Linked DNA regions of Homo sapiens: region 1 is linked to region 2. Evidence: promoter capture Hi-C in human tissues and cell types (Jung and others, 2019). All regions are on one chromosome and are shown on one strand. The core of a region is centred on a gene start or on the middle of the fragment in contact, and the rest is flanking DNA. Distances in the headings are between cores, read along the strand shown.

The links. Contacts are between HindIII fragments. The study calls those that stand out against the background at their distance.
Region 1: a fragment that was not itself captured here is called in contact with the fragment with the promoter of UNC5D in region 2 in 2 of the 25 tissues and cell types used here (dorsolateral prefrontal cortex and spleen).

Annotation. Positions count from the first base shown.
Region 1 is chr8:35,329,152-35,332,193 of GRCh38, reverse strand. The region is part of intron 1 of UNC5D (unc-5 netrin receptor D); the gene reads right to left. Among named protein-coding and RNA genes, the nearest start is that of UNC5D, 95 kb to the right of the region's middle. The HindIII fragment of the contact is 4,750 bases long and covers 1-3,042 here.
Region 2 is chr8:35,233,959-35,236,892 of GRCh38, reverse strand. It overlaps UNC5D (unc-5 netrin receptor D), which reads right to left and starts at 1,418. Exons shown (of 17, transcript NM_080872.4): 1 at 1,006-1,418. The coding sequence starts at 1,108. The HindIII fragment of the contact is 15,361 bases long and covers 1-2,934 here.

The DNA.
Region 1 (3,042 bases), core at 113-2,612, 95 kb before region 2:
ATACTCCTAGCATCATGTTAACCCTGATTTTAGCATGTTTATGCCTGAATCAGAAAGTTTATGGTCATATCCCTCAAGAAAATGCCCTTGCTGAGTCATTCTGACATGTGAAGATGTCAATGTAAGGCATCTTTATATTAGAAGATTCTGACATGTGAAGATTCAATGTAAGGCATCCTTATATTAGAAGATGAGTTTACTACCTTCCAGCAAGAGAAAACAACTGCAAATCAAAATCATAATGATGCCTACCAAATATTGAACATGTGCTATCTGCCTGGAACTATACTTTATATGTATTGTTGCCACCTCTACCAAGATCTGGGCAAAGAAAATGTGTTTTCCCATCTTCAGATGCAGCATAGAGAGAAGCAGAAGCACTTGGCAGATGTCCTATAGTCAGTAGTGATAGAGGCAGGATGCAAGGCTGACTCCGAAGGCCATTCTTATTTTACGCTGTCAGGAGGTTTGATGTGATTCTGTTCAATTCTCCTTCAAATCTTCTTCATGAGAACTGATTCATGATGAAAAAGAAACATTAAAAAGATTTCTGTGTGAGTCAGAGCACCCCCTCCAAGGATGGTCCATATTCAAAGACTAGCAAGACTGACTGCTGACGCAGGCTGAAGTTGTTTTCTCACTGGCTAACCACTAAGCCAGTGGACAAGCAGGGCAAGTGATACAGGCGAGGAGGCTAAGATGACTAGACACAACTCTGGCCTCCTCCTTTGGTTTTCAGAGGGTGCTCTTGAAGCTCCGTGGTTACTGCTGTGTGCTGGGTTTGAGCAATCCACCATATTCAGGGAGCAAAGAAACCTGTATCACATATTAATTTCACTAAGCCCAGGAGAGAAATGACATCAGTGCTCAGGGGTCTATAACTATGAGAGAAGGCGGCTACCATACTCATGAACTCATGTGTTTTAATTTTTATCGAACCACTGGACTTCAAGCAAGCCCAATGGCCCCCCAATATAACTCTCCTGTTCTTTTAAACTGTTTCGAATAATCTATACAGGGTCGTGAATTAATCTCTCATCTCTCACTCATCTTCCTCTTTTTCCTGTCTCTTAATCTCTCTGCCTTTATTTCTGCTTCTCCAAAATTCCCCTTTGGATAACAGTTTTCCAAAAAAAACAAATCAAGACTTAATATGATCTTAGCTTAGCAAACAACAAACCAACCAACCCATCCAAAGCAACCCTGAGCAGCCCCAGGAAGCACTTAAAAGAAAGGAAATGAGGCTGCATCACATTTGTGGTCTCCCTGGGGCCAAATACTTTACAGTGAGATGGTGCACTTCACTTATACAATCATTTTTAAACCCACTTATCACTTTATCCACATTTTGTATAATACAGTGAAAGAATACACTCGAAAGCCAAAGCATCCGCGCATTAAGGAGGCCTGTCATGGTTCATCTCGAGTTAAATTTTATAGGTTTTTTCATTGCAGCCCCCAGCTATGCCACTCTATGGTAATCAAAGTCAGGCTCGTTCATATCATCTTATGTATATTTCAGATTTCCAAACTCAAGGTTAGAAGCCTAAATGTATTTTGTTTTTCAAACATTCTGAAAAATGATAGAGGCCCTGCAAAAACGTATCTAGATTGGATCTAAATGGAATTATACCACGATGGCTGAACTGAAGATCAGCTGGAATAATGCAATAGCTATTTGCCCCATAACTGTAGCGCATCAGCTAGCAGTTTTGAACTATTTTTCTAGTCACCACTTCTGGTTTTATTAGCCAGTGATTAAAAGAGACCTTAGACTTCATTGAACCCTTTCCCCTTTATTTTACAGATGAAGAAAATGGAGTCTGGAAAGGTGATATGAACAAAAGGTAGCAAGAGCTAAAAGAGGCATAAATGTAAGCCAAATCTTTATCTTCCAATTACAAGCCTGTTTCAATAAATACAGTCTTTTTTCCACCTAAGAGGCATTTATTGAGCAGTTAATATGTGACAAATATTGCATTAGACAAGGAAACTATAATATGTACTAAGGTTAAGGACCTAGAATCTGGAGTCAGAGAAATTAAGAGTGTGAATCCAGCTTTACTACTCAGTATCTCTGTGCCTTTGAACAAATTACTTAGCTGCTGTGAAATATCAGAAAAGTTACTGCCTTTCCAATTATTATTTAGTTTTCTCCTTTGTAAGTGTGAACAATCAGCACACCTACCTCACAGGGTCATTGTGAGGATTAAATAAGGCACTGCCACTGAAGCACTCAGCAGGGTGCCTGGGATTTATCAGGGGTTCATTCAATGTTAGCCATTATTATTATTACAAGTTGAATAAAGCATTGCCCATACTTGCTCAAGTGCTAGAAGATCCAAGTTCAGAGACAAGCAGAGAAACAACAAATAATAATAGAATTAGTTCAGTACAATAAGAGCCTCATGTATAGAGGTAAGGGCAAGGAAGGGGGTGAAGCCATAAACTCTGGTTAGGTTGAGGGCCTCCTGGGGCAATTGCACTAGGCCCCAGTTACAGACTTTTTAAAATCATTTTTTCTTAATTTTTTTTAAACTGGTTTAGCTCTATAGCATACCCGATCATGGCCTAATACATGGAAAGGAGTCAGAGGAGGAAATATATAAACAAAATGATGAGTGAGACTTCAGATAGGAACACAAGCTAATTAACAGCACTCGGCATTTTCCTGGTGCTTGTCTATTCTCCGGTCTCATTAGAACCCCAGTCTAATGTGTTGCTTTCAAGATTGATGTCTACTTTTTCTATCCTTTTTTTTCCCCATATATATATATATATATATATATATATCAACCCAATAAAAAACAGAAAATTGGGAATATTCTCTACCTACATTAGTTTTATATGCTGAAAGCTATCTTTTTTTAAATCAGAAATATGTAATCTTCCTAGAGGACAAAAATAGAGCCGAAACTCTGGAGACGATAGTATGGCAGTAAAAAATAGGACTTGGGAAGTGGACAATTCCAAAATCAAATTTTGGTTGACTTTGAGCATGTTATTTAACCTCTCTGAGCACAATTTCCTGTACAAGAGAGA
Region 2 (2,934 bases), core at 169-2,668:
GGTATCACATATTCTAAGCCTGATGGATGGAACACAGAGAAGGAAAAAGGGAAAGAAGGGCGGGAAGGCAAAGCTTCCGATTTTTTTCAAAGGTAAAGCTCCGGTACTTGAGCTGTGTCTGAAACTGCCTCTGATCATCTTCAAAACAACTCCTTGGGATTTATCTTTAACTTGATGCTGCCTGTCCTCGCTCAAGGTGGAGCTGAAACCAGTTGCGAAATTTCCCTCTGCTGGAGTCCAGAGGATCCAAGAAAATGGGGTCTAGGCTTCTAAGTCGGAAAGAAGCAGAGGTTTCCCTGCGGCTCGGTGGGGCCCGCGCTTCCAAGCCAGAGTAGGCGCCGGGAAGGGAGAGGAGGCGCCTGGTGAGCAGCCTCGGGCCAAGTGCTCATCCCGGCTGGGCACTGCAGGCGCGGTTAAACTGGGATGGTGCACGCCGCTCTCCCGAGCTCCAGGGCTGGCTGGGACCTCGGGCTAAGGACGCCCGAGGGGTGCCAAGCTAGGCGCAGAGCGAAGGGACTTCAGCATGGGTGTTCCTCCCCTAAGGGAAAAGACACCCTCTCTGTTCAAGCCCACCCTACAGACACTCCCATCACCTGGCCCCTCTCCCCAGGAACTCTCCGACATCGCTATGGGCGCTAACTCATGACCAAGCTCGGCTTGAGAGGAAGTGGAGAGGAGAGGGGAGAGCGAGATTGGAGTGAAGACCGGGCTACTCCAGTCTGCAGCAATTGGGGAGGGCTTGGAAAATGGAGCAGGCAAGGAGGGTCCAGGAAAACGGTAGGGGCCCGGGTCACAGCCACCTGTAGGATTGCGGCAGATCGCAAACTTGGGTTGGAAGGCTGTGGTCCCCTCGGAGTCCTCCACTCGGCTCCCATCCGGTTGGGCTTGGAGCGCCGAGGTGCAGGGCGCAAGTTGGGAAGCCAACGCCATCGGTGCAGGTCCCGCTCCGTCAGGCTGGCGCCCCTGCGCCCTCGCCCCCAGCTGCCCGCTCCGCCCAGCGCTTACCTCGGGCAGCCGCGGTCCCTGCCGCCCAGAAGCACAGCCCCAGCCACGGGAGCCAGCGGCGCGCCCCTCCGCCGCCGCCTGCGGTGGCCGCCGCTCTCCCCATGCTCCTCGCCGCGTTCCGGAGGGCGGCTCTTCTTCACGCTCCGGGAGCCCGGGAAAGGGTCGGCGATGAGGGTCCCGAGTCGAATGGGTCTCGGGAGTCTTCAGAGAGTGACTCTGCTCCACGATCGCTTCCTAAAGCAGCGGGGCAGGGAGCTCCGAGCCGCCGCTGAATGGGCACCCCGAGAAAGGGCGCGTCCCCATAGCTTCCCACGGCGCGGCGACCGCTGCCGCCAGCGCGGATGCCGGAGTCGCCCGCAGTCCCCGCCGCGCAGTTCCCAGCCCTCGCGCCGCTGCCGGGCCCCGAACTACGGAGCGGAGGCGAGAGTCCGCATCGCTAATGAGACCCCCGCAGCCGCCCCTTCCCCTCCCCTCCGAGCGGCAGCCAATGAGCCGGGCTGGGGCGGGGCCGCGGGAGGGGCGGTGACGCGGCGGCGCTGGGCTGGGGCCCGGGAGGCGCAGGTGAGCCAGAGGCCGCTCCACGTGCCCCCGGGGCGCTTCGGGCCCCGCCTGCAGCTCCCCCCCCCGCTCGCGGAGAGAGGAAGCGGGCTGGGAGTCGGGCGGCGGGGATGCGGCCACGCCGCGGGGAGCTGAGCGGAGCCGGCTGGCCTCTTGGGGCGAACGCCGCACAGATATGTGGGCATCTCGGTTGCCTAACTCAGTCACCTGCTTCCAGGAGACCTCCGTTTTGTTCATCTACTTTGAGCCCTTCTAAAGTCCTGCCTCTCCTACTTCCACTTTTTCCCATTAGATCAGACATCACTCAGGAAAACATCCTGAGAAAAAGAAAGACTTAAAATAAATGCGTAGTGGGAAAAAATAATAATGGAGTTACTCCATTGCTGCAACTATGCTAACTTCATTCATATAAATAAAGAAGTGGGGAATAACAATCATGGGTGCATTAAGGCTTGTATAATCGATTTTTATTTTTGCTTTCTTTTTTTTTCGAATTCCCTATTCTGTTGTCCTGAACACTCCGGAATCCCCAAACTTTTCAGAAGCTCCCTCATTTCGAATGGCTCCTATTTTTGTCAGTTTTAATCTGAGCCCAAGGAATTGCCTTCTGGTAAGTATCAGGGAAAGGAGTGTCGACTTAAAAAGGAAGAAGGTGAGGCGAAATTAATATAAGTAAGAGTTTATTTGGGCCAAGTGTGAGGATTGCAACTCAGGAGTATAGATTTAAGTTGTTTTGAATATATATTTTGATTAGTAGTAGTTATAAGTGGATTCTTAAAGGCAAAAAAAAGGGGGATGGGGAGTGGACTGATGTAACATTGTTAGGAATTTATACTGATTTATTGAAATAATGTCGATTAGTGATTAGTTATATATAGTTAAGTCATAGGATGTGGGTTATACTGTTTGATGTGGTATTATTAGGTTAATTTATAGCTATTTGTAGTAATAGTATGTAGTTTTAAGAAATGAATATATAGTTTAAAGGAAGGAGTAGGGCATGATTGTGGTCTCATTCTAATGTCTCTCTGGGCCTGACAATTAAAAGGACTTTGAAACGCGCTGGACTTTTATAAGAAGAAGGAAAGAAGACTCTTTTTTTTTTTTTTTTTAAGTGTGGCTTGTTTTAGATAGATTATCAAATTTTTATTTAACTGCTTTCGAAAATACCTCACGGTTGCCTCTTCCCTCTGCTGGAGGAGTAACTTTAGAGAGCTTGTCCTAGGTCACTCAATTTCAGAGCACACCCAGGAAGTTGGTGGGGAGTCCCAGGCTCCCCAATTGGACTACCTCATTATCGCTGCCAGGATCGAGTCCTCAAAATGGCAGCAGAGCTCACCTTTTGCCTGGTAATCCCCCATAGAAAAGGGA